2 separate regions of the Homo sapiens genome follow, and region 1 is linked to region 2. Evidence: promoter capture Hi-C in human tissues and cell types (Jung and others, 2019). All regions are on one chromosome and are shown on one strand. Each heading gives the region's core, a stretch centred on a gene start or on the middle of the fragment in contact. The rest is flanking DNA. Distances are from core to core; before and after follow the strand shown.

The links. The method cuts DNA at HindIII sites, captures the fragments that hold promoters and counts their contacts. A contact is called where the count stands out against the background at its distance.
Region 1: a contact is called between a fragment that was not itself captured here and the fragment with the promoter of CHST4 in region 2, in 1 of the 25 tissues and cell types used here (thymus).

What each region holds. Positions count from the first base shown.
Region 1 is chr16:71,367,878-71,371,803 of GRCh38, forward strand. All of the region lies in intron 1 of CALB2 (calbindin 2), which reads left to right. LOC105371332 (a long non-coding RNA gene) reads right to left here. Exons shown (of 5, transcript XR_933714.3): 4 at 962-1,040. Among named protein-coding and RNA genes, the nearest start is that of CALB2, 11 kb to the left of the region's middle. The HindIII fragment of the contact is 3,725 bases long and covers 1-3,371 here.
Region 2 is chr16:71,525,062-71,529,003 of GRCh38, forward strand. CHST4 (carbohydrate sulfotransferase 4) reads left to right here and starts at 1,365. Exons shown (of 2, transcript NM_001166395.2): 1 at 1,365-1,434. RefSeq lists an enhancer at 998-1,608. The HindIII fragment of the contact is 30,806 bases long and covers 1-3,942 here.

The sequences.
Region 1 (3,926 bases), core at 259-2,758, 160 kb before region 2:
ATTCAGAGAGGCGGCTTCTCTCCACAGGGCTGCCCTTCTAGCTCCTGGACCCCTTTCCCTGCCTCCAGTTTTCCTCCTTCCTTTCTCTGCCCCCTTCCCAGAGGCTGAGGCTTCTTGGGAGGTCTTCCCTGCTCATCCTTTCCAAGAAGCCCTGGAAGTCGATCTCTACTCTATGACACCATCATTCTTTCATTGCTCTCGACACTGGAAACACCATGTTTAAATTCATTTCCTTGCTTATTATCTGTCCCCTGCCCCACCCACACCCCATTACAGCATAAGCCCCACCATGGCAGGACCTAGCTGGCCTTTGCACCTCCAGTGCCTGCACAATGCAGATGCTCAATAAAGGTTCCTCCAATGGTCCAGGCACGGTGGCTCACGCCTGTAATCCCAGCACTTTGGGAGGCCAAGACAGGTGGAGGATTTAAAGACCAGCCTGGGCAACATGGCAAAACCCTGTCTCTACCAAAAACAAACAAACAAAAAATTATTCAGGCATGTGCCCGTCGTCCAAGCTACTTGGGAGGCTGAGGTGGGAGGACGGCTTGAACCCAGGACATTAGGCTGCACTGAGCCGTGATCCAGCCACTGCACTCCAACCTGAGTGACAGAGCAGACCCTGTCTAAAAATAAAATAAAATAAAAATAAAAAAATTCCTCAAATGAATGAATGAGTGAATTAAGCCTGGATCAGGAATTAGGACACTTCCGTTCTGGTCCTCCCTGGCTGTGTGGTCCTGAGCAAGTTGCTTGCCTTCTGTGTCCTGTGCCTCAGTGTCTTCTGTCACCAGAAAAGGATTCTACTCTGCCATGCCCGTGTGTCTGGAAAGATTATGTGTGGGTTCATTTCCCCCACAGCAACCCACACAGGTCTTACCCATAGTGAGGGCTCAAATTATCTGCTGGAGCAAAGAAAGACGGCAAAAGCGCTTTGAAAAGTTAAAGACATTCCACTGACCTTCAGCACTTTCCTGCTGGGCGAGGCACTGGATGATTGTCTGAGTTTCTTGAGGTTGTTAAACCTCCTTCAAACCTTTCTAGAAAAAAAGATGGAGTAAAAATAAATACTTATTCTAAGTTCCAGAAAAACTCCAAGGAAAAGATGGCCCCTAGAGATCTGTACTTTACTTCTTTGGGTTCAGAGCGTTCAGTGGGGCGGGGCTCCGTGCTAGCCTTGCCTGCTCTAGCCTCCCTCTGCTCCCCTAAATCTTTCCAACCTGAAGAAAGCAGCCCAGGGCCAAGGTGTTTGCAGCATGGGCGGGAAGCACAAACAGCAGCCATAATGGCAGTGTCCGCCGGCATGTTTGAGGCTCGCTGCAGGCCAGCGCTGCGAGTGTATTATTATCCTCTTTAATCTTCATGGCAGCTGCATGAGGAGGGTGCTATCATTGTCCCCATTTCACAGGAGAAGAAACTGAGGTTCACAGAGGTGGTGTCCTCTAATCTGGGTACGACAGAGGGAGGAGAAGAACCAGGTGTCGGTGCCTCAGCAAGAAAGGCCAGTCACTCTGCCGCCCCCCAAATGGTAGGTGAAGGGGCCAGAGAAGAAATGGCAGAACATGAAGGACCTGGTGCAAAACAGGGCTCCACAGAGGGATGACGGACCCTGTTCAGAGCTAAGTGGAGGCGGCTCTTGGAAACATACCATGCTGCTCTGCGGGCTTCCCCTACCCAGTTCCTTTCAGCCACCTCCCGATACACTCATGAAACATATACTCGCTCCTGTGTCCGCCCAGCCCTGGCTCCTGTGGCCTCTGCTTCACTGAACCATGACACGCACTCGTGGTGCCAGCTCTGAGCCCCCACCTCCTGCCCTAGCCTCGGGCTTCTGGAAGCTGCAGATGCACCCAGGGCTGAGCTCAGCTTTCCACCTCCCCGTCTGACTCTACAAAGCCTCCGAGAAGAATGTGACTTTGCCTTCTCAGTTGAGAAGAAATTGCACCTCAGTGATAGGAGAATAGCCAGATCGCTGCAGGGAGTAACCAGGAAGAGAAAAATTACTCATTCTTCCAACTCAGAGCATCATCAACTAGACGATGTCTTTTTGCCTAGAAAGCCCATCTCCCTGTCCCTCACTCCCCTACTTTAGCCGGCCTCACAGGAACCACACTCTTCTGAAATTCCAGTTCTCCTAAGAAGCTTTACAAACATCCTAGAAGGAAGATAACCACCCCATCCTAGGATAAAAGGGAACTCAAATCTCATTCTGCGAGCCCATTGCAATCATGTCTTTTCCCTGCAGACAAAAATACATAATTTATCTCATGTGATTCGTGCCATACAATATTTATTGTGGCATATTCTTCACTCGAGAGTGCCTCTAAGTTTATTAAGAATTTAAATTCTCAGGGGGCCCTAGGAGGAGAGGCTGGGAAAAGCCTCCCCCCACAACCCCTCACAGAGGCTGGGGTAAATGCTCCTTTATTTTCTCTGTTGCGTTTGTAATTCCATTTGCCCTTGGTGAAAGCTACCACCTCCCTTCCCATTCGAGTTGAATCTCCTCTACGGGAATCTTGCTCAAGGGCTTTAGATCAAATTTGGAACTTGATGTTAGGTCAGTGGTTTTCAAACTTTGCTGCACAGGAAATCACCTGGGAGTGTTAAAAAAAAAAAAATCATGGTGCTTAGTTCACACCCCAAACAAATTGCATCAGAAAGTCTAGAGGTGGGGGCCAGATATCCATATTTTTTTTAAGATCCCTGGGTGCCAGGTACCTGTAATCCCAGCTACTTGGGAGGCTGAGGCAGGAGGATCACTTGAGCCCAGGATTTTGGGGCGGTAGTATGTTATGATCACACTTATGAATAGTGCTGAACTCTAGCCTGGGCAACACAGCAAGACCCTGTCTCAAAAAAAAGGAAAAATCCCCAGGAGATTCTTTGCCACAGCAAAGTCTAGGAGGCACGGCCTGAGCCCTGCCTGATTTCCCACCCACAAATGCCTCCTTCCCCATCACAGCACTGACCAGTGACCTTGACCATGCATTCAGCTCAGTCCTGGTCTCTAGTAGACCATCCAGGCTCAAGGCGTGAGAGCCTAAAGGACCTCTCACTACTTATGTGATCTCGCAAGTCAGGCTGTGACCTCGGGACCTGGTTCTGATCACTGCACTTTTCCCACAGATTCATTCCCACCTTAGGCACGGGTTCTGGTAATGGAACTCAGTAACAACATTTATGCTGCACTCATAATGACTAGAGGATGGGCTTTCCACACAAAATCCTGTTTAATTATAATAACCCACTTTGCAGATGAGATGGGTTCAATAACTGTCTCAAAGTCACACTGTTGGTAAGCACAGCAGAACCAGTCTTTAAATCTGCATCCACAGGCCTCAGAGCCTCCTCTCTTCATTACCAGGTGGGATGCCTCTCCTACCCTTGATCCCTGTGACCAAGTCTCAGGTAGGGCAGGGGGTGGGAGGTGACATCCCATAGGACAGATGCCCTGTGGTTCTCTCTTTTCTGGGCCCTTCTGTTTTTGTTTCCTAGGACTGTTATAGCAAGGCACTACAAACTGGGTGACTTAACACAACAGAAATGTATTCTCTCACATTTCTAGAGGCTAGAAGTGTGAAATAAATGTGTCGGCAGGCTCTGCTAGAGCTCTGAGGGTGAATCTGCTCCCTGCCTCCCTCCTGGCTTCTAGTGGTTGCTGGCAGCCCACAGCGTTCCTTGGCTTGTACACACATCACACTGGCCTCTGCCTCCATCTTCACATGGTCTTCTTCCTGGGTCTCTGTGTCTCCATGAAGCCTTCTTACAAGGACACCGACCACTGGATTTAGGGCCCACCCCAATCCAGTATGACTCATCTTAACTAATGACATCTGCAATGACCCTGTTTCCAAATAAGGTCCCATTCTGGGGGAGCACTCCAACCCGCTACACCTTCTGAACTCCAGGGACCCCAGTTCTGCCTC
Region 2 (3,942 bases), core at 115-2,614:
ATCTCGCTGTGTCGTGCCAGCACCTGAATCATCTCTTTGTGCATAAAAGCAAAACTACCGACTGCCCAGTTCTAGTGCTTCCAGTTACACCTCTGCCCAAAGTCCTTCACTGGAGGAAGAGAAATTTCTCTTCTCTCTGCCAGAGAGAAACAGGAAGGGAGGAAGAGCCACACAATTGAAATCAAGTCAAGGCAAGCACCACAGGTTCTTGTCATTTGTGCTTAGCGGACTTAGCTGATGGAAATCGGCAAAGATCATCCCAAAGCTCACACAACTCCCTGCCTGCTCTCTCTCTCTTCCAAGGTCTGGAAAAGGAAGTGGCAGCTGAGTTGCGGGGGTGGGTGGCGGTGGGAAGGTATTATTATTCAACCACTTTTTAACTCTTATATTGTCATATTATTGTGTTAGGAGCTTCATACGCATTAATCCTAACATTCACAACAATACTGTAAAATAGATATTGTTACCCTTATTTAACACCGATGATATTCTAGGGCTCAAAGAGGTGGTATGACTTGCCCGGCAAGATCTTGGACTTGAAAGTCTGAGGCTTCCATTCTCCACCACAATTTACGTTTATTCACGGGCATCCATTGTTTCAGACTCATGACAACCGTGTAAAGTAGCACGGAGTAGGTAAGTGATTTGCCCAAGGGCACACAGCAAGGGAGAGGTTGTAATCTTTAATGATAATTTGTTTCTTTTTTTCTTAAAGGGGACTTTTTTTTCTCCTGTACCACCAAGCCAGTACATCTATGTCCTCCCAGAAAATATTTATTACCTCTTGTAGCAAGGGTGAAGATATTGAATACAACACAGAGGCTGAGAAATGTTACCTCCCTAGACCCAGGGTGGAGTGAGCAGGCAGGTGTAATGCAAGAAATAACTTTCACATTTTCTCCTTGGAGATAAGAACAAGGTCTAAAAATCAGGTTTGAGATTTTGTAGCCTTTCGGCTTGTAAGTGTCATGAAATTTCCCTATCAGCCTCATCTACTAGCTCCCTGGGTCTCTCTCTCTCTCTTTCTCTTTTTCCCCACCTCCCCACTCTGCCCATAGGGAGTTGACCTTCACAGTTGCCTTTCAGTAGTCAACATGCCAGGATGCCTCCAGTCTGGGGGAAAATGCTTCCTCATTTGCTTCTCCCAGCCCACCTCAAGCAGTCTCCCCACCCCTTGAGTCTCAGCAGTGTTAAAGCTGTTACTTTCACAGCTTCCTGGGAGCGAGTGCTTTCTCAAGCCCGTCTTGCAAGGTGGGTCCTTTTTTGTTTTTGGCAGAAGGGAGGGACAGTGAAATGTGCTCTGAGTAGGGACGGTTATGCAAAAGCAAGTAGGAGGAGGAAGCCAAGAGGGGAGTTGGTGAGTCAGAGGAGAAAAGCGCATGGCCCGGCTAGCAGTGAGCCTCTCAAAAGCAGCAGGGAAGCCCAAGCCACAAGGTAAGAAGAGAATTTCTGTGTACGACTCCAATGCAGAGCCATTACCCAGAGCTGCTGGAGCAAGAGTATCAGATAACCTCTGGCAGCTAAGCTAGAGATTACAGTGGCGAAGGCGGTTTGCGCAGAGGGGATAAATCAGATCACCTGGGGAATTTTCTGGGTAAAATAAAACACAAGCTGCTTACCAGCAGCCCCCAAGCCCCACTAGCTCTATCCCTAAATGGGTCCAAAAGAGCCCAGAGAGCAGATCAGGCTGTTCTGATGTATATTTTGTAGATGGTCCCCTGGTGCCAACTGACTCGTTCAGATCCTGGCTTTGGAGCTCAAATTTCTGTACTTCCTGCAGCTTCTCCTCTGTTTTCTGCTGGGGAGTGGAAGACAGGAGGTGCAAGGAGCTGTAGGTTTTCTCTAGCTCAGGAGAGGGACAGTGTGATCATTGAAAATTCTCAGCCCTGGGATCCCCAAAACCTGGGTTCTGATCCAGAAAAGGCTATTTATACCGGATGAGCCAGTCAATTAAAGTTTAGTTTATTTATTCTGAAAAATGAAGAAATGTCTCATCACTGTCTAAAATATCTAACCGATCAGTATCATAATTGCAGCTAAAAGGGCTTTAAAAATGTGGAACACCACGCACATGTGCAATATGATTAAGTTATGGTGCCAACATATCAGCTATGGTAGAAGATACGTCTATCTTGCATGGCCTTGGACAAGTATGAAACTTCTAATTGGAATTGAAATACTTTTCTATGTGTAAAATAAATGTAATATTGTCGATGAAAAGAGTCAGACTCTGTGACATATTTGAAGAGATTTATTCTGAGCCAAATATGAGTGACCATGGCCGGTGACACAGCCCTCAGGAGGTCCTGAGAACATGTGTCTAAGGTGGTCGGGGTGCAGCTTGGTTTTATACACTTTAGGGAGACATGAGACTTCAATCAAATACATTTAAGAAATACATCTAGCCAGGCGCGATGGCTCGCGCCTGTAATCCCAGCACTTTGGGAAGCTGAGGCAGGTGGATCACCTGAGGCCAGGAGTTCAAGACCAGCCCGGCCAACATGGCGAAACCCTGTCTGTACTAAAAATACCAAAAAAATTAGCTGGGCATGGTGGCAGGCACCTGTAATCCCAGCTACTCAGGAGGCTGAGGCAGGAGAATCGCTTGAAACCGGGAGGCTGCAGTGAGCCGAGATCCTGCCATTGCACTCTAGCCTGGGCAACAAGAGCAAAACTCCATCTCAAAAAAGAAAAAAGAAAAGAAAAAAGTACGGGTCTGTCGCCCAGGCTGGAGTGCAGTGGTGCGATCTCGGCTCACTGCAACTGAGAGGAAGCCTTCAGATAGCAGGCTTCAGAGAGAATAGGTTGTAAAATGTTTCTTATCAGACTTAAGGTCTGTGTTGGTGTTAATGCTGGAGAGGTATGATGAGGCATGTTAGATCCCCACTTCTTGTCATGGCCTGAAACAGTCTCTCAGGTTAAATTTTAAAAAGACCCCTGGCTGGGCACAGTGGCTCATGGGTGTAATCACAGCACTATTAGGAGACTGAGGTCACTTGAGGTCAGGAGTTCGAGACCTGCCTGGCCAACATGGCAAAACCATGTCTGTACTAAAAATACAAAAAATTAGCCAGGTCACTCGGGAGGCTGAGGCAGGAGAAGCGCTTGAACCTGAGGAGTCGAGGTTGCAGTGAGCTGAGATCGTGCCACTGCACTCCAGCCTGGACAACAGAGCAAGACTTCATTTCAAAAAAAAAAAAAAAAAAAAGAGTCCTGGCTGAGGAGGAAGTCCTTTCAGATGGTTGGGGGGCCTTAGAATTTTATTTTTGGTTTATAATATCTTGCTCAATCTTCCTTTCTGGGTCTCATATAGTAAAAAAAAAAACACTGTACAAATATATGTTCACTTGTCATTTGTTGAAAGATGTTCCTTGAGCACCTACTATGTGCCATGCACTGTCCTTGGCACTAGTGACACAGCCCTGGCGGGACCCAGGTCCAATCCTCCTGACACTGTCTAGGAAGAGTTTGTTATATGGACACCCTTTACCCAGGTGCCTAGCTTCAGAGGTTTTCCAGGTCTTCAGGCTGCTTGTGAGGATGCCAGTTTCCCCAATCCAACCCCATTCTCTCTCTCTTTGCTCAAGGTATCTTCTGCTGTATCTAATTTCTACTTGTAAGGGGCATAATCTCATGGGAAGTGTAAGTTAGGAATGCATCCAGTGGCTGGAACCCAGACTTCTTAAATTAGTATCTATCTGGTTTTTTTCCCCCTCAGAATTTCCCATTTTGTCTCTACGAGGCTACATGGTACCGATTTGGGGGACATCTATAATTCAGCCCACTCTAATCAGCTGCTGCTTGAGGTCACCCATCTGGCACCTTCGTGGTTCCTGTGCCAAACATAGATTCTCCCTTCTCACCACCCTTTGGTGGCGTTTTCAAGTTCCTAAGGTTCTCTTGACTCCTCAGAAATGGCTGTCCTTTGTGTTTTAAGATGAT